Linked DNA regions of Homo sapiens: regions 1, 2, 3, 4, 5 and 6 are each linked to region 7. Evidence: promoter capture Hi-C in 16 types of primary human blood cells and fetal thymus (Javierre and others, 2016). All regions are on one chromosome and are shown on one strand. Each heading gives the region's core, a stretch centred on a gene start or on the middle of the fragment in contact. The rest is flanking DNA. Distances are from core to core; before and after follow the strand shown.

Region 1 (3,836 bases), core at 1,269-3,768, 1.2 Mb after region 7:
TAGAAGTATAATTCCTGGATTAATGGATATGGAGGTCTTTTTAGAAGAAGCTTAATACATATTGCCAGATTACGTAATAATCCAGTAAGAATATATTTTTGTTAAAATACAAAATTTGCACACACCTCTAGAGAACAACTTAAGGACAAAAAGGACCGCATTACAAAAAGATGTTAACTGTTAGTACTAATCATATTTTTGGTGGTCATGTTAATATTACTGTTTTGAGACAGATCTAGGGGGTAATGTGGAATAAAGAGAACAAGTAAGTGATATTCTAATCCTGTCATCCTTACTGATCTTAAAAATCACAAGTCTTGGTGTGAAACAGAGTACACGAGGTTCACTAATAATCTCATAGTCCTGAATTTGAATAGGAAGTATTAATAAGAACTCCTAATGTATTTTATCCTATAAACAAAACATTTTATTAATTTTTCCACTAAACAGACACAATGATCAACCCAGTAACAATGAGCACTCCTAGCTCCCAGATTGCAGTCTCTTAGTACAATTCCCTACTAGAAGGAACCAGCTCATCTTGGAGAAACGGCTGATTACACAACTGGAGTAGGAAATATACAAGATGATGTTAGAACATATGGTTATACCAGATATCAAAGAGACTATGAAAGACTGCCAAGGTTATGTTCAAATGACTCAGCAGCCAATGTGAAAAGATTTATTTTTCAATGTGAGAAATGGCTGATTACATGACTGGCATAGGAAATATACAAAATGGTGTTAGAACATATTGTTATACCAGATATCAAGGAGATTATAAAAGACTGCCAGGGTCATGTCCAAATGACTCAGTAGCCAATGTGAAAAGATTTGTTTTTCAAAAGGTAGAGACATGACTAGAGGACTCATCCAATGGTATTATAGGTTATATTGAAAAGGAATGACGTTGTGCTATGTGTACTGCCCTTAGAAGAGCTCTAGGATACACTGCGAAATCCTTAAAAAGGGCTAGGCATGGTGGTTCATGCCTATAATCCCAGTGCTTTGGGAGTCTGAGGAAGGAAGATTCCTTGAGGCCAGTAGGTCAAGACCAGCCTGGGCAACATAGTGAGACCTTATCTCTACAAAAAAAAAAAAAAAAAGTTAAAAAAATTAGCCAAGTATGGTGACAAACACCTATAGCTCTAACTACTTGAGAGGCTGAGGCAGGAGGATTCCTTGAGCCCAGCAGTTTGATGCTGCAGTGAGCTATAATCATGCCTCTGTACTACAGTCTAGGCAACAAAGTAAGACCCCCATCTCAAACAACAACAACAAAACGAAAACAAAAAAGAAAACATAAGAAAACTAAATTAAAAATAGAGTCATTAAGCAATATATAACATAAAACAGATGTAATATTATACTTTTTATACTGGTAAATATTCTGTGATAAATCAATTTGGTTTTAAGATTTTGCAAATTTTCCTGGCTAGTATATATTCTTTTAACTTGAGATATTATAGTAACTATTATCAGTAGTTTTAGGACTAGATTTTGAGCCTCCGTGGACAAAGATTATGCACATTTGGTGAGCTATTTGGCATTTGTAACAGTTTTATGCAAATAAATACATAAATGATGTTAGTAGATGCACTGACAAAAATAGAGATGTGTTAATCATATTTATTAAGAGGGAGGTTATTAAATCTCTTAATTCATGTAGTTTTCTCCTTGTTTGTATCAGAATCACATATTTGTTTTATAATCAGATAAATAAAACAAGGTAAAGAAGAAATAAAATGGAAAAATATGCGAGAAAGCTTAAGAATATGCCTCGCACACATCACCATCTGGAACCAAAATATTTTCACCATGCCAATGTTCACTGAACCAATAATTCTCTCTTGACCAATATGTGAGTGGAATGGATAACTTCCTATGAAGTTACTTCTGGTTCATTGGCAAAGAGCAGTCTATTGCACAACTGAGTGTCTGCTTACCTCCCTCCCATATTTTTATTTACAGGACAAGTACAAAATCATTTGTTGCCGATTAGAAAGAAAAAGGAAATTCCAGAGAGTTTCTCAGAATGACTTTTATTTTGATGGACATATTTTAATGAACCAAATTTATGTGAAAGTTTGTCCTGTTAAAAGTTCACAAAAATATCATGCATGATTGATCTCAAGACTGTGCCTTGATCCAAAGACAACACACAACAGCAGTCAAACATACATTTTATGGGCTTTTGCCTGTTTTGCAATAACACCGGAAAACATTATTTAATTAAAATTTAAAACCGTAACTGATTAATTTTCTGAGTAAACAATCCCTGTAAACATGGAATGTCAGCATTTTAAGGCTCCACGAGTATAAATTTTACTTCCGTTGCATAGACATCTGGGAAGGACTTTGGCACAAGCAAAAAAGGTGACAATGTGACCTGGAGGAGAAGGGCTGTTTGGAGACCTTGCACGTTCTGTAATGTCACTCCTGTCCATGAGGCTGAGGCCCAGTCAGGTGTAGGAAAGCTGCCCTGTCCTGTGTGACTGTGTTGGCATGGGCAGCTGTCACTCCATCTACAGCTCTTTGCTAGCTGTAAATTGCCGGGGGTGGGTGGTGTCCAAAAAGCCCAGCCAGTAGCTGATCCTGCTGCGGCCTCACTGGGACAATGAGGAAGAAATTCTTAGGAATTTGGTTGTTGACATGGCTGTGCAGAATTTAGACTGAGCACTCCCACTGGGTTTCTGCTGTTAAACATCATCCCCAATTGTTACAGGAGCCAGAAAGCGATCTCATTTCTCTTAAGCAATTTTATATATTTTCTTAACAGGGGGAGGTTTAAAACTGTTACTTAAAGTACTCTTGAATGGCTTTTTGAAGAAACATGGAAATATATTGCCAGGAAAATGGGGGAGTATGTTCAAAGTAAGAAAAAATCTAAGACTCTCTGCTTAGGTATTTGTGTAAAACCTGAAATTTAAAAAAAAAGCTCATAATCAAGTAATTTTTATTAGACATTTATAGTCTTGCCAATAATAAATTTCGTGACCTTTGTTCTTCTAAAGTCTAGAGAAAGAACCAGAACTGAAGTGCTTTGAGCTCCTCCAGGTGATGTTCACAGCTTGCGTTTGTGTTTCCAGCCTGGTTCAGCTCTTTTGAACTCACTTCAACCCTTAGCTTACTTATCCAGACCAATCCTGCATGACAGATACCCTCCCTGAGGTGGGGAATGATACCATTCAAATAAATACTTTCATACTTCTGGACCCTGCTTTATTCCTAGTAAACTTATTTTTCTCATCAGTGTGTATGGAAGCTTTTTAAAAGAAGTTTCCATGCTAATTAATTATATTATTATTACTAGAGGAAGAAGAAGAAGAGTGAAGAAACTTTCCCCAATAAGAGAAACTTCAGTTTTTTGCCCTGTCTCCCAAGGAGGTCACGTATTGGCCATCATGTAAAACTTGGCATGCTTCTGTGAAGGGATTTATTAGTTAATTCTTCCATCCTGTTGATTAGCAGTGTTTATTAAGTGCCTGATTCCCATAGTAAGTGGCATAGAAGAAAAACATTCTGCATTTCTTTCATAGAGGAAGTGGAGAGCAAAAGAAGGTGCATCTGTAAGCTCTGCATTGACAGGCAGACCTCAGGGTACTGCAGGTTTGCTTTCAGATCACTGCAACAAAGCAAATATTGCAATAAAGCAAATATTGCAATAAAGAGTCACACAATTTTTTGGTTTCCCAGTACATATGAAAACTATGTTTATTTTATACTGTAGTCGATCAAGTGTGCAACAGCATTATATCTAGAAAAGTACACACCTTGATTAAAAAATAATTTATTGTTAAAAACGCTGACACTGAGGCACAGAATGAGCACATGGT
Region 2 (3,984 bases), core at 594-3,093, 1.1 Mb after region 7:
AATTGGTAGTTGTTTTTATAACAGTGCTGGTAGTAGTTATTATTCTAACTACAAATTATAAGTTTTACTTAATAATACAAAATAAAAGCCACTACCATAAATAACTCCTGTGCCTTCTACTTCCTACCCCAAAATAATTGAACCAAACTCTGCTCTATTCTCTGGACAACCCATGGATCAAATAATGAAGCACAACATTTAAAAGCTTAAAATATGGCTGGGTGCAGTGGCGCACGCCTGTAATCCCAGCACTGTGGGAGGCCGAGGCGAGCAGATCACCTGAGGTCAGGAGTTCGAGACAGCCTGGGCAACATGGTGAAACCCCATCTCTACTAAAAATACAAAAATTCGTTGAGCATGGTGGCACACGTCTGTAATCCCACCTACTTGGGAGGCTGAGGCAGGAGGATCACTTGAACCCGGGAGGTAGAAGTTGCAGTGAGCTGAGATTGCACCACTGCACTCCAGCCTGGGTGACAGAGTGAGACTCTGTCTCAAAAAACAAACAGAAACACATAAAAGCTTAAAATGTTTTGGGAAAGTGCCTACTCTGAATGTATGAACAGATTCCAATATATGTAAGAAGGTGGATACCAATTCATGGTATTTCTCAGGGATCTCATCAGAGAGAGAGACATCTTCGCCACTGCCATGAAGTTTCAAGTACAGAACTCTTCCTCGTAATCAAACTATTTCTATGAACAATTCACTCATCATTGTGGGAAAGTCTATTTTTCATCTTAACACACAAACAGACAATAACAAAATTTGTGATTTGGATAATCTGGATCTGATGTTCATGCTCAAAATGGAGGCAATTCGTAATACTGGTCTGAAGCATTTAGTCATTCACTGAGCAGATACGTTAGGAGCAACAGGCATGGGCTGTGTTTTTCTAGGCACTGTGAACACAGCAGTCAACGAAGTCAAAAACCTGTGCTCTTAAGGGACATGAATTGCCAAATGGAAACACTAAGTTTTTCTATTTATGACCTAAAGCTAGTCAAATATCTCCAGAAGTAAGGTAGCTGAGTGAAGTGGTTCATAATCTTTCCATGGGAGCCAAATCCTCGGTGCTGTGACTCTTTTAGATAAATGATAGTAAAAATGAATCAAAAGTTAATTAGCTTGCACCTCAATAATCCAGTCTCCATCACTGATGGTCATCGTGGAATCTGCGTACAGAGGCAGCTGTATACAGATGACAGAGACAGCTCTAACACGTGACACATTTAAGCACACAGAGGCGGAAGGACATAAAGTTCCTGGTTGATTTCCCTTTGGTGTTTGTGGGGAAATATCAAGGTCATAAAAAGTCAGTTTCTAATAATCCCTCCAGTCCTCCATTCCATTCCCTAATTTGTATGCAATGGCATTTAACATTTTGACTTTGCTTAAAATAAAATGTGTGTTTGTTTTAAAATAAATCTAGCTTCGATACCGTCAACCAAAGTCCAACACAAAACATTTAAAGAATCAAGAATAGGTATTTGAAGGTGTGGTACGTTTCTCAGACTCTGGAAATGACTTGAGTGAGACTCAAGAAGGCAATGTACTCTTTCTTGTCCTGATATAAACCAACAAATAAACAGCTTCCAAAAGCCTAGCTCTACAGACATAAAACATCTGGATGCTTTAAAAAGAAATCCACATTCTTGGCAGTGTGTTCAAACTCAGAATCCAGATCTTCTGAAGTTCAGACATCACCGCTGCGACAAAATGCTACCCTGTCATGATATGTCTCCATAATATCATATCAACATTATCTGTTCTGCAGAGAATCTCCTTAAAAAGTTGAAGACCTGAGGGGAAATGTAGTTTTATCCTATAAGGTCCCGGAATTTGATCCTATTTGTTCATTATGCACAGAAGGTACTCTATGTAATATGGAACTCATGATGAAAATGCTTGAAAAGGTCATTGACTTAGTTCAAATAAACAAATGCCTTCTTTATAACATTCTGGCATGATAGAGAATTAGAGCAGTGAAAAGACTGTAGAGTATAAAGAAAAAAATCCGAGGCCAGTTCAGTTTAGGTTTAGGATATGACTATTCTTAGTACACTGAAAGATGGCTGGAAAGAAGGGAGTGGTGTGTAAAGTGAAAGAAAGCTGGCCACATAGTCTAGGTTTAAAATAGAGAGCGATTAATTATGTAAAATGAGAGCCCATTTTATGTCACTTGCATATATTTCAGGTCTGATTGGTAGAAACCATTGCCATCCTGAGAACCTGGCCTTACTTTTCTCAATGAAAACTTTCTATCACTTCAAACTTCAAGGTAATAGAAGGAGAAAAGAGGCTCTTTAGGGACATTTCCAAAAGCCTCATGCTGACAGAACTTAAAGAAAAACAACTGACTGTAGGAGGTTTGCTGATTTAAAAAGCAAATTCCTATAGAAAGTTTACTTAATAGATTTGTGTTTTCTATTTTTTAATTAAGGGCCTACGACTGCTGGGCTCTTTATGCATAATTTTATTTAGTCCTCACAATAATCGTAGATCTACACTAACTATAGTGTGTACTATCATATATATGTGTGTGTGTGTGTGTGTGTGTGTGTGTGTGTGTGTGTGTGTGTGTATGAGAACAACTGAGCTTCTGGGGTTAAATAACTCCCCCAAAGTCTCCAGTGGCAAAGTCAGAATTGAGCCTCAAGACAGCCTTTTCTCCAAAGCTCAGTCTTTCAGCTACCCATAATGCCTCTTGACAATGAATCAGAGTGAGGCATCTTGAGATGCCCCCAGAAGAATTTCAGGCCTTGTAACTGACAACCAACTGAATAGTGACATTAAATTTTTTTCAAGTGTGGCTTCACCAGTTGCTGAGTTCATGGACTCTGAAAAGAAATCAGGTGTGAAAAGAAGTACTCGACATGTTTGCAGTGGGCTCTAGCTAAAGAGCACCTTGAAAAGCCAACTGCTAGATTTATGGGGAAGGTCTTGCCTAACGAACTTGTGAAAGTTCCCTGCAGATATTATAGTGTTCTCAGCCAGGAAACATGCTGGATTCTGTACCCCATCAAAGAAAAGCATTTGATGAGACTTCATATCGAAATGTACTGCTTGCAGTAAGAAGTCAGGCTGTAGTGAGTCTCAGAGACCAAAACAGGGCTTAGAAAGAGATGCAGTGAGATGACTTCTCCAGCCTGAAAGAAGCTTCCAGCAGGGCAGCTCAGGGAACTGTTTTAACAAGCTCTCATGTTTACATTAGTAGTGAATGACTTAGGGATAAAAATGTCAAAATGAACATTCCAAGGGTAAGGATAATACTCAGCGGTAGCATTAGAAGTCCAAACCTCTCTGTGCTTATGATTTTGTTGCTGTTTTTCAGATGGTGCTGTGAGTGGGGAGTGAGTCAAAAACTCCGCTGGGGTGTACAAAAGTCTACTCAAATGTCCACAGCATCTGTGGGGGATGGAGAATAGTTGGAGGATCTTTCTCCAGAATCCTTCTGTTCTGTAGTACAAGTATTACTCATTATAGACTAGCACGAAAAATCAAGTGAAATGCGAACTTAAGAGTTTAAAAAGAATAAATGGTGCTTTTCTGGCCTATTAGTAATAAATTAAATAAAAATAATTTTAATTTGTAAGTAATGAATGCTAATCTACATTGTATTAATTGGGCTTAACCAGAGAGTTTTTGTTTACATACATTAGGCAAACAAACAATAGGAATGAGGATTTTTAATAAAGAAGGAAGCCAGAAACACACACACACAAGCACACACACACACACACACACACACACACACACACACACCAAGTAAGAGAATACTAAAAGATCAGAGAAAATGTAATTATACTTATCAAAATGTTTTAATGCAGTGGCCTATTAGTTTCAGAATATAAAATTTATTTGATTTGTTGAGCAACTTGGAGCTTATTTTTTAATCCTTTCAGATAATAGGAACTTGAAACATACTTGGCTGTGTATAAGATATATGTGATATTAGAAAATCATATATATCTGTTAATATAT
Region 3 (4,096 bases), core at 314-2,813, 1.0 Mb after region 7:
ATTTGATTCTATTTCATGAGATATATGAACGGGATTCCTGGGATAGTATTCTGTTCTGTTTCACAGGATATACTTATGCCCCCATCCCACAGTTGTCTCCCCTCTCCACTCAAGCATATGCACAGAACCCACATTGGGTAAACAAGATCTCTCTTTTTGTTTCTTTTCCACTACTCAGTTCTATTAGCATTTTAGTGTATTCATTCTGGTTGTTAAAATGTATCACTCCTCATTTTAACACCTCGATAGCAGTTTGGGATTTTTGTTATTTGCTGTTGGTGCATTTATATTTACATATTATTTTTTAAAATACTGAGTTTCGGGAATTGGAGAGCAAGTGATAGACTTGCTGTGACATTTTGAAGTCTAAAATGTTTTTATCAGAACCTGGAAGCCCAGCATGTTGGAGAAGCTCCCCCTTCAGAGCGTGGCCTTTGTTCATCCCCTTCAGGCCCACCTGAGCCACTGAGGATCGCCCGCAGAAGGCTGGCTGCACATTTTGTATGAGCAGAACATTCTTCCTGTTCACCAAAGTGGAACTGAAGTTTCTCTTTCCCTTGGATTTTCTCACTCTCCATGGCCAGCAGCGCCACATTTCTGGATTATGTTGTACGCTTTACCTTGAGAGATAGATGATCTGGTCTTTGATTAGACACCCTGACCTTTTACGAGTGTTGATCATTGATCATGATCTAGGCTGGATAGAAAGCTCTTGACTCTGAAAAGTTACTCGGCTGCTGACACCACAGGGAAATGCAATTTCTGAGTCCTGGTAGTCACTGCAGCAGGACTCCCCCTCAATTAGGATTTCTCTTGTTATTATTTTACTTTTCTTAAGCAAGCTGCAGCCTCTACTCTCCAGCTCTAGCTTTTAGTTACGGTAATCAATTTTTCTGTGTAACTGGCTGTAATTGTTGGCTTGGATATTGAGCTTTCATGGAGCTTAGACATAGAGTGTTCCCGTGAAGGGTCTTCTCCATGCCTAGCAGACAGATGGGTAATAATGCCATATATTAATACCTCCACATTGGTTTATGTGTGTTTGACCACAGTGCAAGCATAATTATTTTTGCCCAGTAAAAGCTATTAGAGATCTATTTGGTAGGTTTTACGATCAATAGCTCCTGTGATATTTGTGTGGCAGCCACAGAATAATCAATTGAAGGTCATATAAAGTAAATTACCATCCTCCTATAATGATTCTTGTTTCTAGATGAAAATTGGGTTTTATTATTTCATCAGGAGCCTCTCACGACGCATGCTCTGTCTGTTTGAGAAAGAGAGATATCAAAGTTGTGAGCGTGTTTTGAACATAGTATTAATATCCATTACTTGAATTTATGGTATTGGATTATTGAATTAGTGGATTCACACTGGAATTCCTTCAAAACCCTTTCTTATGTACTCAGTGACACACTTAACAGTCGAGAGCAAACGGACGGCTTTGCCGCGTGGTGGAGTGAGTCACTTTGCAAAAGTCAATCTTGGTAGCTGTCTCTTTAAAGCAAATTTAGAGTTGGTTAAATGTGTTATATTGACAGTGTGACCGACTGAGCTTCTCTCTGCAAACCCTTTTGGAGAGTGACTGGTGAACTAAACAGGAGATGGAGTCAGGAATGCTGAATACTAATGCATAGTCCATGAGTAGCTCAAGGTGAAAGGGGGGCAAGTGGTGGGCGGAGAGGAGAGAGTCCTGTGCACCTGCTCTCCAGCCAGGTCTCTCCCTCATGCAAGATGCCTAACCTGGATTTCAGACTGGCAGTGCGAGCCAGAGTGATGGCTGTGCCTCTATAAAAGATTGCAATTTGCCAACCGGAGGCATGCAATCCCCCAACTGTCTTAAAGGGACCCATTTTCAAAGTTTAGCCTTTCTTTTTGTGGGTGCAATCAGTTGTGCACTGAAAAACTGCAGCCACAGTTGGATAACTGCAGGCACAACAGGCCACGAGAGGCCTCTTTGCTCCAAATTTTGTACCTGCAACTAATTGCACTTACAGAAAATGGGAGTGTGGTAGGAGTTTTTTTTTTTTTAAATTGGGGCCAGTAAATTCTCCATGGAAGAAATAGGCAAGGAAAGAGACAGTTACTCACTTTCTTAAGGACAAAGGCAAATGGAGACATCCTTTCCTTGACACACCCCATCTAGTCTATAGAGCATGGTATAGAAGCCAAATACCAGGTACCACAAATGCCCTGATCATCTGGGACATTGCCTGGGACTCAGTAACGTCTTGCAAATGTACAAGAAATAATCTATGAAAAGTAGCCCAGAGAAGACATTAGTGAGTTTGAGACAATAACTCCGGTGATAAATTAATGAAGTGTTTTATAATAAATAGCAGAGGGGATTTTCTTTCTATTTAAATAAATTGTTAGTTACTTCTCATTTGCTTTGCAGATAACTCATGCAAAAATTAAGATAGTAGTGACTCTGGATTTTATTCAAAAGGTAAATCTGGAGCCTCTTTGCATTTACAGATATTTATAAATGTACATACATAAGATATGTATGTATTTATATATATATATAAATTATATATGGTATATCTGTATACGCACTTATATACACATATTTTATACATATACTTTTTTTTTTGAGAGATTGTCTTGCTCTGTCACCCAGGCTGTAGTGCAATGGTGCAATCTCAGCTCACTGCAGCCTCCGCCTCACAGGTTCAAGCAATTCTCCTACCTCAGCCTCCCGAGTAGCTGGGACTACAGGTGTGCATCACTGTGCCTGGCTAATTTTTGTATTTTTAGTAGAGATGGGGTTTCACCATGTTGGCCAGACTGGTCTCTAACTCTTGACTTAAGGGTGATCCGCCAACCTCAGCCTCCCAAAGTGTTGAGAGTACAGGCGTGAGCCACCACACCCGGCTACATACACTTACTTTAATTACTTTTTTGATGAGCCTAGGGAAAGGGAAGTCTTGCAATCTTTTTTTTTTTTTTTTTGTCTTGAGACAAAGTTTCACTCTTGTTGCCCAGGCTGGAGTGCAATGGCATGATCTAGGCTCACCACACCTCTGCCTCCCGTGTTCAAGTGATTCTCTTGCCTCGGCCTCCTGAGTAGCTGGGATTACAGGCATGTACCACCACACCTGGCTAATTTTATATTTTTAGTAGAGACGGAGTTTCTGCATGTTGGTCAGGCTGGTCTCGAACTCCTGACCTCAGGTGATTCGCCCGCCTCAGCCTCCCAAAGTGCTGGGATTACAGGCGTGAGCCACCATGCCCGGCCCAGTCTTGCTTTTTAAGGGATGCACAAATACAACTTGGGTGACTCCCAAGTCCTAGTGGGTGAATTTCCTGCCTGGGGGCTTGCAAAGTTATGTCTCACAAGGAATCCATCTTACCATCTATTCTGTACAATTTAGTGACAGGCAAGTTGAGACTCAACTCAAAACCTTGTTTTCTACCTTTTGCAGATGACCATAAATTAAGCTCATAGCCTGGGAATTTGTAAATAATATACAAAATAACATTTGTATTTTGAGATTCTGTTCTTACAGAAATAGTTTGAAATATACTTTTATCCCAATAACAAATTGAATCACCAAACAAAACAAGCAAAGGTTTTAGTAGTTCTTACGGTTCCCAGGAAATTGATGATAGAGTAGTGTAACAGGAATTAAAAATTGAAGAAGTCCAGACAGAAATATAGAGCAATAGAATAGAATAGAATAGAGAGCACAGAAATAAATCCATGTATTTGTGGTCAACTCGGCAAGGGTGTCAATAACACACAATGGGAAAGTATTGTCTTTTCAACAAATAGTGTTGGGACAAGTGGACATCCACATGCAAAAGAATGATAGTGTACCTATATCTTATACCATACACAGAAGTTAACTCAAAATGGGCTAAAGACCTGAATCTGTAAAACTCCTAGAAGAAAATAGAGGGGGGAAATGTCATGACATTGGTCTTGGAAATGATTTCATAGATATGACGCCAAAAGCACAAGCAAAAAAACCAAAAGTAGGCAAAGGGGAACAAAAGCTTTTGCACAGCAAAGGAAATAGTCAACAGAGTGAAAAGGCAACCTACAGAATGGGAGAAAATATTTGCAAACTATTCATCCAACAGGGGATTA
Region 4 (4,285 bases), core at 655-3,154, 1.3 Mb after region 7:
GCTAGTCAGTGTGCCCAGCATTTCAGGGGATCCTGATGGCAAAACAAGAGTACAAGACAAATAGGACCGTCAGCTGGATGAAAACCATCACCACCCAGGGAGGAATTAAAATCAATAATTTGAGAAGAGTCATATAATGTTATTTTGGGGAATCATTGAATCTCAGATCTGCAAGTGATCTTGAAGCTCAGTTCAATCAGCTCCTTCATTTTACAGCTGAGGAACTACAATTCAAGATGGGCAGTGATGTGTTAACATTCTTGCTGTGGGTTTCAACACGATCCCAGTGTAGAACCCAGGTGGGCTGATGCCAAGGCAGGGTTCTCGCAACTGGGCCTCCCCAGGTGGAGCAGTGAACTGTGCTTCCTCTATGAGGATGGGGGTGGCAGGTTGGTGGGGTGCAGAACATCTGAACCAAAAGTGTAGATGATAGTCTAGGCCCTGAAGGACTAGATTTTCCTTGCCCAAGATTTTCATCCTATGCCACAGCCTACCCTTCCCAGACACAGTTTCAGCATACATCTTGCGCCTGTTTCCTAGTCCCCAGACCAGAAAGACAGCATAAATACAACAACTCTCCCAACAAGAGTGCTACGTGGCCCTACAACTGCATCAATACTCCCTGTCACTTTTCTCTCAGAATCTCAAAATGCTGAACCATTTCTGTGGACATCGTAATTAACAAAAGAAAAAAACAGCAACAATAGCAGATCTTTGGGACACGAATTAATTATCATATGGCCATTAATTTTAATATGAATTTAAGTTTCCACTATGGACACTACACAATATTTCACAGGAATTTTTGCTTACAATGTATTGATGGGATGCTTATATATGAACTGGCATGCTGTTTCTAAGAAGTATGCCAGGGTTATGCATTTTCATAAATAGAAAACTAAACCACAGAGGCTCTGACTAGCCCAGGTTAGAATTTAGATTTCCTGGCCCTCTGCCTTGTACTCAGAGTGGAGTTGCCAGAATTCATGAACTACTGTTCAGAGACACCTGGCACTATCTTGCTAAAGTCTAGGTGCTTGTGATGCACGTATTTAGGAGCTAAGAAGGTTGCTTGCCAATCCACCCCCACCCCAGTCTCATTAAATGCCCTTTAGTGCAGGACAGAGATGATTTTGCCCTTTGTTTCCATAAGAAAGATGGCTATCTGTCCGTAAGAAAAATGGCTCTGTGTGTGTGTGTGTGTGTGTGTGTGTGTGTGTAGAGCTATTATAAATATTTGGGGGAGCTGCATTAAATATATATAAATATTCCAATGCATAATATACTTCTGCTTATATCTCAATAAAATGGAAGGGAGCATGATCCAGCAGGGATGGACTCCAGAGTCAGGCCTAGGTTCGAATCCTGGATCAACTACTTAAGAGCTCTGTCACTTTGGGAAATCTATAGAGCCTTTTTCATCTATTTCTTCAGCAGCAAAATGGAAATTTAAAAAGGTATCCCTGCCTTGGAGTTTGTTTTCTGTGGATTAGAGATAATAAATGTGGTGTGCTTAGTATTTCACGGTATGTATGCTCAACAAATAGAATCACACAGCATTACTCACAGCTCAAATTATGGTGGAGCAATTGCTGAGCGTACAAGACTACTGACCGTTCTTGCAAAGCCACTCAGCATAAGGTATATTTAACTCATTGCATCAGAGGGATATTGAGGGTCATCTGCTTGAAATAAACAAATTCAATTATTCTGCAATGTAGTGGTCTAGAGCAATTCACTTGCTACCCAGAGGTGTGTAATGAACCCATTAGAACATTTTGCATATTCGGGGCAACTGTTGGGGTGTGGGATAAAGCATGCATCACAAATTCCACAGGGCTGTATTTAGAAATTCTGAGAACACCTTCAGACTGAGAGCAAACCACAAAACCGGCCTGGAAGTGAGGAGGGAGACTGGAGGGAAAGCACTGAGATTCTTCTGCTGACTATAGAGGTCACCTGACCCTGACTCATAACTTTTACTGAGTTGACTATATCTCACTTCCTGTAAGTGCCTGTCCCTCATACTCACTTTCAAGGACTTGGCCAATCTCCTTTTGTAAATAGAACAATGCTTTATATTTCTCTATTACTCCAGAGTGACTATATCAATAATGCAGGAAACGCATCTGTCCAGCACAATGAGATTATTTTTCTGATTTCGGTTGACAGTTATGGTAATAGTTTGGCAAACAATCTACTCCACCATCAATGACCGCAGATTACAGCTGTTTTTAAAAATCTCAGCCGCTTCTGGAAACTTGGAAGATGGACTGCACACTGAGAGAGAGATGGAAAGACATGCCATAAGCCGTTATGGTAGAAAAATCCTTAACCCTTTCTGTACATAAAAGGCTAAGAAAATATTAAGAAAAGCACAATGTGCCATCTATGGGTACACTATAATGAGAACAAGGTGAGGAATGACAATGCTGAGACATCGTTAGGACAGTCTAACATTGCCAGGGGGGCTATAACGCAACAGAGAGAGTCTGCAATATTTCAGAGCACTGCATTTTATGTTGATAAATTTTCCAAGTCACCCAGGAGTTATTGCAAATATTTACAGGAGAGAAAATTGAGAAAGAATATTATCTTCCCTATTGGTCTTGATGAATAGAGCCACTAGCTAGTCAATAACAATGACCCAAGCCCAAGATTGTCATATGTTTGTTGAAAAAATAAACAATAAAACGTGGTTTAATTTACTTCTGCAAAAGTGATGAATAAAAGTTGATTTTTAAACATTGGAACTTCTTAAGTCTTAACAACATGCGCTTTTCTTAAAAGTTCATAACAACTCTTACAAAGGTTTGATTTTTGACACTTATTTTCCCCCTTTGGAATTTTTTCCTTTACTTTCGTTTCATCAGAGGCAGAATGCTGATCTTGCTAATGGCCTGCAACCTTGGCATGTGGCCAGCCATTGTTACCCAGGGACCAGGAGACAGAATGCTGGCTGTGCGAGTCTCCCAAGGTGCGAGCTTTCTTTCTCTCTGAATTAGGAGGTGAAACCATTTGGAAGAGCCATTGTAAAGGGGAGGGCTTTGGGCTGTGCATACTCCTCATATCCAGGTGAGTTCATTTTTCTTGTGAACTTTTCACCTAGGCCCCAATTAGTATCCTATTAACCTCCTTAAATATGGAATTGCTAAGATCTTAGAATACTCCAGAATGGACTATTAGCCAGCCCATTTCCTGGCTCCATCAGATGAAAATGCCAAAGTAGGTCATACAACAGAATTATCTTGATTAATTTCAGCTCTCTTGCATGGGCCATGATGTCATGCAAGTTAAAGGAGATTCAAATTTAATGCATCATTTCAATGACTGATTAAACATGGGATTTTCTGAAAAACATTTACAATTCCAGGTTTATAAGGATTCTCCTTCTTTAATATGACAAACATTTCAAATGTGCTAAATTGATCAATTATACAAATGATAAATTCCCTTGAATATACTTTTTCATGTTCATGTTCTCCAGGGCCTAATATGGAAAAAGGTTTATTATCCCCAGTAACTACTATGTTAGATGAAAAGCTCTCAGCATTGTGCCCCTTTCCTATCCATGGATGCAGGCTATTAAAAAACAAAACAAAACAAAAAAACACTATGAAGATGCCACATCTACTCCAGAAGCCTACTCAGAATGGCATTTCCAAATATAAATGGCTTTGCTAAGGCTAAAAAAAGCATCAAACTTTACATCCTTTATCATACATTCCTAAAGGACTCCCTTGAAAAAAGCACTTAAAAACATTGTATCTTGGAACATCTCATATATTGGTGCAATTTATTTACAAGAGTCAGATTTAATTTGTTTTCATGTATAAAGCAGCTTTAGGGACTTATTAGCAATTTCAAATGTTACAGGAAAATATGCTGAATCTAAAGTTCATTATCACAAGTAAGCTTATTTAAGTGAGATTATTTGTTTCTTAAAATGTACAAGATAGCTAGTTCTTTAAAAGGCTTCTGTTGCATCATTTCACTTAGAAATAAAGCTTTTGGATGCAGCTGTTATGCTCTAAAGTCAGGGTTGTGTCTGTTTTGTGTTTATAAGTAACATGGACACAGCCTGCTACTATAAACACTGAACCCGGCTTAACATGTTCCTGTCTTTTCCAGATGAAAATGCAACTTACTTTCGTGATTTAGGTTATGAAACTTTAAAACCATGTCACATTTTAATATGCAGGGGTTCCTTCCTGTAATAACCTGCAATGTATATTCATGTTTGCAATTTCTAGCAAGAAGTAAAATAACTGATAGCTTTTATGAA
Region 5 (4,321 bases), core at 1,147-3,646, 1.4 Mb before region 7:
TGATGTTTAATTTGGAAAGAGGAAGATAATGCTGATGCCACCCCTTCCCCACTTTTTTTTGTTTTTCAGAAAGTGTAGCATGATATTCTTGTGTGTTAGGTTCTTAAGTATCTAGCATAGCAACACCTTTTTCCCATCTAACTCTGAGCAGCGTATTTAGGCTGGCTGCCTGTCTAAAAAGTTGTTTGTGGAGAGCAGTTAGTCACAAAAGCACATGTGGGTCCCTTATTCCTCTTCAATTCTAAGCAGTGAATATACCCCGGGCTTCCAGGGAGACAAATTGTTTTAATTTGCTAACATTTTGGGACTCTCCAGGACTGTGAGAAGCTAATTTCCAAGTTTTGGGACACCCCTGATAGAAGCTTAGGCAGACATTTTCTAAGATTATCTCTGAGACAAAAAAAACAGGCAAAATATCAATTTCTGCACGAGTCTCATGCAAACCATACAGTCCATTCAAGCACGTTCTTTTTCCCATTCATTTTCTCTCCCTCTTTCTCTCTCTTTCTCGCTCTCGTTTTTATTTCAATTGATGGGATCCATGAACAGAGTTGTACTCCCCTATGGAGTGAATGGAAGCTGGGAGATCAACGCCCTATCACAGAAAGGCTGTGTGACCCTCGCCAGGTCCCTGGGCTTTCTGAATCTCTGCTTAGTCATCAACAAATTTGCTCTTCTGCTGATGGAAATTTGGCCAAGAATTATGAAACGAATGTCTGAAAATTTTTCTTGTTACTCCCATAACAAAAAGCTCTATGTAAAAAGAAAGTAACGTGCTGGTATCTAGAACTATCAAAGAATTTCTTCTTTAGCTAGTAAAATAATCATAACTAATGGTCATCTATGAATTTTCCCTACAAAATCTTTATATCACCCTTTAAAGGAAAAACTCAGACAGGACTAAATGTTCTTTTTTATTTTAGCAAATAACGCTAATGTTCTTTTTCTATTTTATATACATATGTACACACACACACACAGGCCGCAAGCACACACAGACACATATATTATTCTTCCTATATGTGTAGAAACAACGTATAAAAATATGTTGTACATTTTTTTCTTGCTTCAGTGTTTCTGCATGGGTTAAAAATGTAACAAAGTAAAATTTAAGCTCTTTCATGCAAGCATTAGTTCTTTAATATATAAATTTTTATCAGTTAAGTACTGCTTTAAGGAATACTTTTTCTTGCTTTCTTTTTTTTAAAATTGAATATTATTTAATGAGAGGCTGGAATCATATGTACTTCTTTAATGAACATGTAATGTAAAACTTTTAGAGACTTGCTTTAAATAAGAAACTTGCTAAGATATCTGAACAGTTGTATACTGATTTCTAGATTATCAAATTGAAACTCAAAGGTACGTTGCGTTTTTTTAAAAAAATCTCTTGATGTGACAGAATTTGTCAGTAAGCAAATATTATGCTCATAAAACAATTTTTTGGAGAGTATCATGATAGAAGTATTGCACAGCACACAAGTTGTTCAACTTGAACTCATAAAACATCATATTATTTACTTGTCTTTTCCTTTGAAAAATAGTTAATTATTGAAGCACTGAGAACATTTTACATTCCTGGCTTGTGGTTGCGTCTTGCAAACGTGAGACTAATGAGAGCAAGTTCTCACCCCAACTCTGAACTTGCTGACTTATCTGATTTAAAATCCGAGCATTTGAACATTGGTGAGTTATTTTAAATAATGATTCTATTTTGTTGTTGCTGCTGTTTCATGAAGAGTGATTTTTTTTTTTTAATTCAACAAAGACAATGCCTTGGATCTGATGTAGGAGAAAAAGGAGTGATGGGTCTGGCAGACATCTATGGCATGTATATTTATTTAACGGTTTGCTATAATGCTTATTATTAATGATGACAATCATGAACTTGCATGCATTGTTTATTTTGTAAATACACATAATGGAGCTTTCAAAAAAGGAGATCAGCTGCCCCTTGCAACGATGGCCGTCTGCTGGGGAAGTAACTACTCAGAGACCCTTTGTGACTTGGGTTCCTGACCCAGTCCATTTCACTATTAATGCTCTTGGAACATTTTGTGAAGTCCATTTATAATTTCCCTGCTCCGAGCATCTAAAATGAACTGCAGGTCTACGTTACATCTACATGGTAGATTAGATTTGAGTATCTATAAGTGGATTTGAACACCAACAGTACCTGCAAAACTAAATATGCATTAAATGCCATGAAGTTCTGGTCATAAAATGCAAAAAGGATTTCCAAGTTCTTGGGGGATTGGGGACACTCTTCAGATAGGACATAGGTAATTTGATTAACATGCACCTTGAATCTACTTTGTTTTGATTCTGAAGAGCAGAAATAAAATGGGCAAAAACTCTACATGAAACCGGAGGCATCTCAGTTTATTTCAGTACTTTTAATTTTTATTTTATATCTTTATGGCAACTTATAAAACTTCTACTGGACATTTGGGCTTCATTTTGACCTTTCCATGCTCTTTCCCTAGATCTGAATTATTTGGCTTTAGTGAAAATGGAAGGAGTACAATAAAAAGAAGCTCAGTCCGAGGGGCACACCTATTCCTGCATTAATTCCGGATTTAATCGTGTGCTACCTGAACTCTGGGACAGCCAGCTTGGCGTTTATATATCTCTCTCATTGAAAGTCCAAAAATCCCAGGGAAACATTCGAAGGAAAGGAGAAAACGTTTGTTTTCATAAATTTTATAAACCCTGGCTCTAACAGATCTTAAAAGGGCGTCTTACATAGTGCAGAGATGCTAAATACTACATCTGCTTTAAATATTGTTGGGTGTCTCAGGCCTTTGTGGAGAGAGTTTGATGCCGTCTTTTGTTGTAGGACAACTAGTGTACTCTGTGATGCAGGGGAGTTGCTAGTTCAAAGGATACAGCCTTACTTCGGGTTTCTTTTCTCTCTTTCTTCCTTTCTTTCTTTTCTTCTCCCCTCCCCGTCCTCTACATTGTGGTTTTTGCTTGGGGGGGCTTTAGTTTTAAACATTCACATGGAACTCCCAGTCTTTCTTCTTTCAAGAAAAGACAAGCCCTTTATAATAATAATTACAAAATCTGCAGTAAGTTCTGTAAATTGAACATACATGAAGCTATATTGGCTACTATCACAACCTTTTGTCTTAAATTGGGTAAATAACTCTCAACTTTGTGCTTGTGGAATGGAAGGTATTTATAGATATTAATTACAGTCAAGCTAATTTAAAGTATCCTTTATTAACGTTCTTCTGGTTTTATGATTTTCAGGAATAATTGCAGCCACCTACACGTACAGTCTTCACATAATATTCTTAATTGTATTAAATATCTACCCGCACTCAGTTTACATAGCATTTTAATATACATCTTTTATTCAGCAGAAGTCTAAAGGCTTCTCTTTATTCAAACTGAACATTAGATCAGAAAGTGAAGAAGTCGGAGACCTAGCAATGAAAGCAGGCCTTCCCTGTTTCTCCGACAATGATTTCGGGTAGGTGACTGTGTGTTTGTTGAGAAATGGACTGGATGGGATATTGACAGTTTCCTATCAAAAGCTAGACCCTAGAGGCCTGGCTGTTTGGGCCCACACTGATTGACTACTCTTTAATAGACATATAATTGTTGACAAATACCTTCCAATAGACTGTGGCAGCGCCCAGGCAGACAAAGGAGATTTCAGAATGATAGAGACCAGAGCTGAGCCATTTGGTAGAGGCAGTGCCTTACAGAGGAAAGGACTTTGCACATAGTGAACCTACTAAGAGAAACCAGGTCAGGGCATCTCTGTGGCCAATCCTGGGCAATCGTGCCAAAATCGAGAAATTTAAAAAGACTCATTGTTTCTATGTATCATAGAGTTTGCTGGAGAGGGATGAACACAGACTGTTTTGTGCAGTTTTGTATCCAATCTATTACTTTGTCCATGTTTAAAAAATTATTGATAGGGAGAGAGGGGTGTGTGTGTGTATGAGATTTGATACCTAGAATATTTAGCTTGTTTATGGATTGTAAAACCTATCAATCTGATCCTTGTAAAAACACAATAGGCTATTCAGATAATTTCAAAGAGTCTTGGACAGTAACAAGAATTATGGAAAAAATTGATTTTAGACATCAGCCCATTTACAACTGAAGTGTCAGAGGAGCTTGGAGATGTCCCTATAAGGCTGATGCATCCAAGAGTATTCGGGAACCTCCATCTCAGCCTCCGCGGCTTGTCTGGCCAAGCCTGCCTTCCCAGATCAATGCCTGGCTGAGAAATAGCTCTTGAAAGTTTGCCTCACAGGATGCATTCTCTCGGCCCGTTCAGTTTCAGTAAATCTCCCTCCTTGGG
Region 6 (3,749 bases), core at 994-3,493, 1.7 Mb after region 7:
CATCAACATTTGGGGAAGTCCAAAGAAGCAGCCACATTGCATTTGGCTTTGAGAGCATTTAAGTGAAATCCCCTTTCCAACCACAACGGATACTGTAAGTATGAAAACTGACATAAATCAGACACAAATGTAGTTATGGGCTCTAGCAAATGTAAAGTACTTACAGGCTTGGAATTTCTATTTCAACCTCTATAAGGCTAATTATTTCACCGCAAGCACTGAGCCCATCACTGTGATTGCTGCCAGCTGGTACGTAGTAACATCTAGATATTGGCTGACAAATTATTTAGAGTTTTTACCAGTACAAATAGTAGAGAGAGTAGTCCAAAACTTTGTAAATTAATCAGTTATGCTTTTATCATAAAAACTCTACTTAATATATTAATAGTATTTATTATTCATTTAGTAATTATTGTTTTTATTATTTACTATCAATTAAAAATCATTCTTCCTACTATGGGGCACCCATGTTTCAGGTACTGTTCAAAGATGTTCATGTATATTAACTGATGCAACCCTTCCCATAACTTCATCTCCATTTACAGTAAGGAAACTGAGGCTCAGAGAGGTTAAATGACTTGCCCATAGTCTCACAGCTCCTAAGTCGCAGAACTACTACCCAATGTTAGGCAGCCCAACTCAACCATCCATATCCTTAAGAGCCACCTTCTATGGTTTTGTGATTATTTAGCAAATTATAGCAAATGCAAATAAATGTCAATCATTAATTAGGTATTAAATTTTGATTTGAAAATGTTAAATCAGCTTGCAATTGGAGAGTCCATTTACCAAACAAAACAAGGCACAAAATGTTCTCTTTTTCACGTTAAGCCTTATCTGTTCTCAATTGCTCTTTAATATCACTTTGATATCTTTATTTGCTTAATTTCATGTCTTTGCATTTTTTTCAGGGAATATATTAACTGTAGCTAAGTCAGTCTTCTACCAACCTAAATATATCCTTTTTAATAATAATAATAGTTTGTAGTATTATTATAATAAAGCAAACATTTTTTGAGTTGTCTTTGTGCAGCTATTAGGTTAAGTACTTGATTATCATCACCATAGCCGAAGGAGTCAGATGCAATTTATTTCTTGTTTATTGTTAGAAAATCTGAGGCACGTAGAGTTTAGAATAGCTTGCCTTAGATCATATGGATAATAAGTATAAGAGCTAAGATCTTTTGCCTCTCAAGTGCGGGCCTCTAACCATTACACCACATAAGAATCACCCACATAAACTTCAGAGAGGAAAACGCCAGAGGCAGAAGGGCATGCTGGAGGAGAGACAGGGCACTAGCCCTGCCTCTATTCCTGCCTGCTCCTGGGCCCTCAGTGACCTGGAGCATGTCCTTCTCTGGAATTCGCTGTGCGCTCTGGTTAATAGGGCAGCACTCATGAATTCTAAGGTTTGTCCCAAATCCAAAGCTTGTGCTTTCCCTTCCAGGTTTTTAGTCAAGTCATTTCCCATCGTCTTGACTTCCTTTCCCAGCTCACCCACACGGCATCCCTCCCGTGATGGTTTATTTTATGTGTCGACCTGGTGAAGGAATGCCCAGACAGCTGGTAAAACATTTTTTCTGGGTGTGTCTGTAAGAGTGTTTTTGAGAGAAATCAGGATTCGAATTGGCAAACTGAGTAAGGAGATGACCCTCCCCCACATGGATGAGACTTCTCCAAACCTTTGAGGGACTGAATAGAACAAAAAGGCAGAAGACAGACAAATTTGAGCCTTTTGCTTGAGCTGGAACATCCATCTTTTTATACCCTCAGATATCAGCATTTACAGTTTGCCAGCTTTCAGATTCAGACCACAAATTACACTATCTGCCCCCTGATTCTCACGGGGGACTTTGAATTATACCACCAACTTTCCTTTGGAATTGGACTGAATTTTACCACCAACTTTCCTGGTTCTCCATCTTACAAATGGCAGATCATGGGACTTCTCGACCCCCATAACCATGCGAACCAATTCCTGTAGTAAATCTCTTCCTATCTGTCTTTCTATTTACTTATCTATCTCGTATTCGTTCTGTTCCTCTGAAGAACCCTAGTATACCTCCACCCATGGGCCTTCATTGCCTCATTCCCCCACCTTCTATTCCCTAATACACAGGCCCTTTGACTTTTTCTTACCCCTCATTCCATCAACACATTAAGGACTATGATAAACAAGCCATCGTTTTGCAGTGATTCAAATACAGCCTTGCATTTTCTCCAATTATTTTCTTCTCTGTATCGTTTCTTCCAAACTTGTTAGTACCTTTTCCTGAGTGGAACCTAGCCTTTTCCTTATTTTTTTACCCAAAAGTTTCAATGAAGACATCGATTAGTAAAATCGTATGGTTTTCAAGGGAAAACTACCATGCACAGCTCATTGCATCTCCTATGTGAAATTAGAGCCCAGTTTCTGCTACAGATAACTAATATATTGTTTATTAAAAGGTACTGATTTTTACAAGCAAACAAAAAGTAAGGCTGACTGTCAATTTCTGTCTCACAAAGGAGGTTTCTGGAAACATGTTTCCCAACCTGAGATACCTGAGATTCTAAATATTTTCGATAATTCGCTTTGCCATTTGGAAGATCTGAAATGCTTGTATCACTTTTTTTCTAACTGTTCCTCCCCTCCCCTTCCCAGTGAAGGCCAACATAAATACAGGATGAGAGGAGGGCGGCGGGGAGCTTGGGAGGGAGGAGGATGGGAAAAAGAAGAAGATTTCATATCAACATTCAGATTTGATGTACATTATGTGCAGCAGGATCCAGGAGGTAGAGAGGCCGCCAGCTGGGGTTTGTGGTTCCAGAGGAAACAGCTGTTTTGAGATTATAGGAACAAAGGAAGTGTCAGGCCGGAAGGAGAGCAGGAAGCCACTTCAGCCCCTCTGAGTTTTTGTGGTAGCTCCTCCTTGTACCAGGGCTGTGAGACCTTCGCACGGTGTTCTCTAGGACAAATTAATGTGAGAAAATAATAATAAAACCACGAAAACAGAATTTGATGGGGTTTGTCATTTGGCTTGGTTTAAACAAGTGGTTACTGGTTGTGTAAGCTTGACTCACAACCCTGCTTTCTCATGGAGCTATTCCCCCTGCCCTGGTAGCAGGCCATGGAAGATTTCAAAAACAGCTTCTTACTGTGGGAATGAAAATTTGTTCATTAAAGATGTTACCTTTTAAACTCTCTGCCTCCTACAAACAGCTTTAGGCTTCTCCCACACAAATGTCTCTCCTCTCTCTCTTGTATAATAGGGAACTCTTTTAAAATATCAAGTAATTAAAGCTCTTCATGGGTGAACTCACCCATTGAGAGGAATCCTCCAGCACACGAAATGGTGTCTGTATCAAATTCTAAATCTGTCTTTTAAAAAACCCAACATATTTTTCTGATTTTTGGCAGTAAGAGACCTAATTTTGTTCCAAACGCGATACACTTGCCTTTTTTTTTTTTCCTCAGTGGGTTTATATTCTCCAGCTCCATTTGGGTGAAAATTTCTGTTATCCAGAATGAGTCAAAGACAGATTAAATAGCTACCTATATTTAAATTTTCTCCCATATTCAATTGTAATTTGTGTTCCCAGATAAATAGAGTGAGGAACCAAGATGAGGGAAGGTGAGAAGAAATGATGATAGGAGACAAATGGAGTTGTCTTTTTTTTTTTTTTTAATTGCCTCACTGTTACTGGGAGGTAGTAAAAAAGAAAAGGAAAGAAAAGAAAAAACCTAGACAACACACTCAAGCCCATGT
Region 7 (3,767 bases), core at 146-2,645:
CTGCGTCCGGACTTCCTGCTCCCCTGGCTGCGGGCGGCGGCGGGGCGGCGGCGGCTCCCCGGGTCTCGGGCTCCGGCGCGCCGCCTTTTGTGTGTGCGAGGGTGCAAGAGGGCGCGGGAGGGCGCCCCGGGTGGCTCGGGGGCTGGTTGGTTGAGGTTGGTTAGTTTTTCCTTTTTTGTTTTTGCTTTTGCAAAGTTTTGTCGATGGCTTGTCTGGCCCGGTGTGTTTGTTTTGTTTGTTTCTCTCGGCTCAGCTTTGTTGGTTTCGGGGGGCTTTCCGCCGGGAGGGGAGGGGAAGGGGACAGGAGAGCGAGTGGGAGCAGAACGTGGAGAAAGAGGGAGGGGAGGGAGAGCTGAAGTCGATTGTCTGGCTTCAAGACAGAAGTAGGAGGCAAAAAAAAAAATCTCTCCAAAGATCTCGCTCGCTCTCACTCTCTCCCTCCCTCTCTCGTTCACTCTCGCTCTTAGAGCTGGTGTGCAGCCGAGGAGTTGGCGGAGGAGGAGGAGGAGGAGGAGGAGGAAGAGGAGGTGGTGGTGAAGGAGGAGGTAGAGGAGGAGGAGAGGCGACTGTCCGGGGGCCAAGTCCAGGGCAGCCCACAGTCAGCCATTCAGGAAAGCCATCGAAATCAGGAGGACTAGGAGATCGGAGGCGCCGGGTGCGGGCGCGCCCAGGGAGCCAGGCAGGCCGGGGCGGAGGCCGGCGGCCCGCGGAGTGGCCGGAGCGCTGCCCGGGTCCGGGGGAATCAGCATGAAAGTGGTCCGCGTCGGGCGCTGCGCGGCGTCGTCCTGGCGCTGGGCCGCCGCCGCCGCCGCCTGCCCCGGGCGTCCGGCGCGCGCCTCGCTCTCTCCGGCCGCCGCCGCCCGCAGTCGCTGGGTGGAGGCCGCTCGCCGTTCCCTGCGGGCCGCCCGGGCCGCCGCTGCCGCCGGAGCCGCCGCCGAAGCCGCCGGGTCGGGCCCGGAGCCGCTGCGTCTAGCGCCGCCGCCGCCGCTGAAGTCGCTGCTGCCGCTGCTGCCGCCGCCGGAGCCGCTGCTGCTGCTGCTGCCGCCGCCGCCTCACACACATAGGGAAAGAGTCAACTCGCCGGCGGCGGGGGAGAAATGATAAAAGAGAGAGAGGAGGGCAGATCACCACCTAGAAGCACATCCTTCGTGCGCAGAGGGGGGAGAAAAAGACGGAGAGAAAGAATGAAAGAGGGGAAAAAAGGCAGTACGGCACCCGGAGAAAGGAGGCAACTCGGGGAGAGGAGGAGGAGAAGAAGAAAACACACACGCGCGCACGCACACACACACCGCGGAGAGAAAAGAACAGAGAATCAAAGTGATCAAATATGCTAAAAAGGGGGGCGCGGGAGGGAATGCGATTTATAGGCGCCGGGGCTGGCAGAAGTGGCTTCTCCGCGATCAGCTCACTGAGCTCTCTATATAGTGAACTTTGACACGACTGCTGCAACTTAGCGCACGTTGCCATGGCGACGGCGCGCCTTATAAGGCAGCAGCCGGGGTTGGCCTGGCCAGGCGCGCGCGCGCCGCCCCCTCGCCGTCATTGGCCGGACTGCGGCGGCCCCGCCATGGCGGCCGCGGGCGCAGCCCGGTCCTAGCGCGAGCGGCGTCGCCGGCGCGGCGCGGGGCACGCGGGGGACCGGGGGTTGGGGGGGCGGGGACGGGGTGGCCGCGCCGCCGCCGCCGCCGCCGCCGAGAGGGGGATGGGCCCGTGCTGGCCCTGCGAGCGCTGCCTCTGCTCTCCCCACATCCCGCACCCGAGGTTTCCGCCCCGGCGGGGAGACTAGCGCAGCGCGCACACACAACGTCTCTTAAAGGCTCCGCGAGAGGCTTTGGATGGAATCGGGGAGTTTGCCTCTCGCAACTTGGCGATGTCACGAATTCCGCCGCTCGCGCACCACCCGGGACTCCTGGCGCATCTTAGTACCCACAATGCCAAAGAAAAGTTCCCTGGTTTCTTTGCAGAGGGATAGGGAGTGAGGGTGGGAAGGTGCCACGAACTGAGCTTGTAGGCATTTTCCAAACGAAAGAGTTGGCCAGATCCGGGTGATGGCAAACCCTTCTCTTAATTAACTCTGATCACTTGTTCGGTTTGGTGACATATATATATGACATATATTCTTTTCAGAGGATAAAGGCCGTTCTGTTTCTGTTTATTCCTTGTAGGGTTAACATTTCACAGGTATGTGGCCTGACATTTTAATTGCCCAAATAAAGCATCTCGGATGCTGAGAAGCAGAAATAGACTTCATCTGATTGTCATGATGCAATTAGAATCAATTTTCCTCAACTTTACCCTCTCTCGCTGGTTTTAGCTAACTCTCCAGCCAACATCCTGCCACACACCCAGTCATGGTGAGAGGGGAAAGACCTCTGCCCACTGATGGACAGGAGGAGGCAGCCGCCCAGCCTCCCCTGTGCACACCCTCTGTACACACATGTAAGCGCACATGTATCAGATGCACATTTGTCAATGTACACAGACAAAGACTTCACCGACTATGCTTCTAGGTCATAGAACAGTTGAGTACGGACTTCATTGTTCCTCAAGTTCCTTTTAAGCATTCATATAGTCATTAAAACGCACCCAGAGATTCTGCCCCAAATGGGAAATAATACTAGTACAGGTCACAAGAACCAAACCCAAGCCATATTCTACCTCAAGAAGTCACTGCAAAAAGAACAACTTCATAGCCTATTGCCATTCTGCTCCATGTGCTAAAATAATTGAGACAGTTGTGTCTTTGAATTCCAGGGTGTCTGGTTTTAAACATCAAACATGTAGAATTGCTCTCAGAACACACTATATTCCAACGCAGTAAACTTGTTGTTTATGACCAGTTAGTGAATTATCATTATTCCACATTTATACAAGAAAATTGTGTCTCCTTTGTACACACTTTGCACCAAGAAAAAACCTCATGCCGGTAAACCAACCAGGTTTGTGAACAATTAAAATATTTTACACAAAAGACGCTGAGCTCCAGGAAAGAAATGAACACATATGAAGAGTAAATTGATGACCACAGAAAACATCCTTGGTAGCTGAAAAAAAAATTGACAGGGTAAAGATATTTTAAAAATAAACCATACATATAATTGACATGCATAGATCACATTTTACATTCAATTCTCTTTACACACATAGGCAGAATATGAGGTAAGGACTAAAGATCTGGGCAGATAGGGGCTGGTTTTTAGGAAAGGAAAAATCTTCTTTAAGCTTCATTCCCGAAACCTCAGCCCTCACTCTTTCTCCGATGAAATCACGTATTTCACTAAAGCTGCAGGTTCTCGGTTTATTTGAAAGTTGTTAAAAAAAAAAAAAAAAGCCCAGCAAACCTATAGTGGACACTGAACTATCATAAACCTGGTGTGTAATAAGATTGCCACAGAATGAAGCCAAGCTGAGAATTTCAGGTTAATTAGAGACACAATATAACTTTCTCCTAAAGAGGATAAGAAGGATGGAAAAGAAATCATTACACAGGAGAAGGTTTTTGGTAGTTGTTGTTGTTTTCCCTTCCAACCTCTATGATTCAGGAATTGCTAATGTTACAAATGTCAGCAGATTCGGGACAAGCTCAGCTGAGATGTGATGAGACTGGGGTTGAGATAGGAAATCTAATGGGCATTCCCATCTCAATAGAGGATGAAAATAATTGATTATAGGGAAATCTTCATCTCACCTCCTGAATGAGACTTCCATAGCAGATTACCTTTTACAAACATGGGAAGGAACAATATCGAGGAGGAAGAGCTTCCCCA

Evidence for each region. Contacts are between HindIII fragments. The CHiCAGO score rates a contact against its expected background, and 5 or more counts as called.
Region 1: a fragment that was not itself captured here is called in contact with the fragment with the promoter of NR2F2 in region 7 in 1 of 17 cell types (endothelial precursors); the score reaches 5.2 in endothelial precursors.
Region 2: a contact is called between a fragment that was not itself captured here and the fragment with the promoter of NR2F2 in region 7, in 1 of 17 cell types (endothelial precursors). The highest score is 5.3, in endothelial precursors.
Region 3: a fragment that was not itself captured here is called in contact with the fragment with the promoter of NR2F2 in region 7 in 1 of 17 cell types (endothelial precursors); the score reaches 10.3 in endothelial precursors.
Region 4: a fragment that was not itself captured here is called in contact with the fragment with the promoter of NR2F2 in region 7 in 1 of 17 cell types (endothelial precursors); the score reaches 8.8 in endothelial precursors.
Region 5: a fragment that was not itself captured here is called in contact with the fragment with the promoter of NR2F2 in region 7 in 4 of 17 cell types (M2 macrophages, M0 macrophages, erythroblasts and 1 more); the score reaches 9.1 in M2 macrophages.
Region 6: a fragment that was not itself captured here is called in contact with the fragment with the promoter of NR2F2 in region 7 in 1 of 17 cell types (endothelial precursors); the score reaches 8.5 in endothelial precursors.

Annotation. Positions count from the first base shown.
Region 1 is chr15:95,173,248-95,177,083 of GRCh38, reverse strand. No RefSeq gene overlaps it. Among named protein-coding and RNA genes, the nearest start is that of LETR1, 150 kb to the left of the region's middle. The HindIII fragment of the contact is 1,499 bases long and covers 1,769-3,267 here.
Region 2 is chr15:95,276,727-95,280,710 of GRCh38, reverse strand. It overlaps LETR1 (lymphatic endothelial transcriptional regulator lncRNA 1), which reads left to right. Exons shown (of 4, transcript NR_034095.1): 4 at 615-1,423. Among named protein-coding and RNA genes, the nearest start is that of LETR1, 48 kb to the left of the region's middle. The HindIII fragment of the contact is 2,637 bases long and covers 525-3,161 here.
Region 3 is chr15:95,321,360-95,325,455 of GRCh38, reverse strand. The region is part of intron 1 of LETR1 (lymphatic endothelial transcriptional regulator lncRNA 1); the gene reads left to right. Among named protein-coding and RNA genes, the nearest start is that of LETR1, 3.7 kb to the left of the region's middle. The HindIII fragment of the contact is 4,883 bases long and covers 1-4,004 here.
Region 4 is chr15:95,016,791-95,021,075 of GRCh38, reverse strand. It overlaps LOC105370989 (a long non-coding RNA gene), which reads left to right and starts at 2,950. Exons shown (of 2, transcript XR_932645.2): 1 at 2,950-3,075. LOC105370991 (a long non-coding RNA gene) reads right to left here and starts at 2,159. Exons shown (of 12, transcript XR_002957693.2): 1 at 2,033-2,159; 2 at 1-32. The HindIII fragment of the contact is 4,026 bases long and covers 1-3,917 here.
Region 5 is chr15:97,750,274-97,754,594 of GRCh38, reverse strand. The region is part of intron 1 of LINC00923 (long intergenic non-protein coding RNA 923); the gene reads left to right. Among named protein-coding and RNA genes, the nearest start is that of LINC00923, 120 kb to the left of the region's middle. The HindIII fragment of the contact is 4,064 bases long and covers 365-4,321 here.
Region 6 is chr15:94,606,554-94,610,302 of GRCh38, reverse strand. No RefSeq gene overlaps it. Among named protein-coding and RNA genes, the nearest start is that of LINC02852, 19 kb to the right of the region's middle. The HindIII fragment of the contact is 1,625 bases long and covers 1,431-3,055 here.
Region 7 is chr15:96,328,328-96,332,094 of GRCh38, reverse strand. NR2F2 (nuclear receptor subfamily 2 group F member 2) reads right to left here and starts at 1,395. Exons shown (of 3, transcript NM_021005.4): 1 at 1-1,395. RefSeq lists a silencer at 1,503-1,642. The HindIII fragment of the contact is 6,805 bases long and covers 1-3,224 here.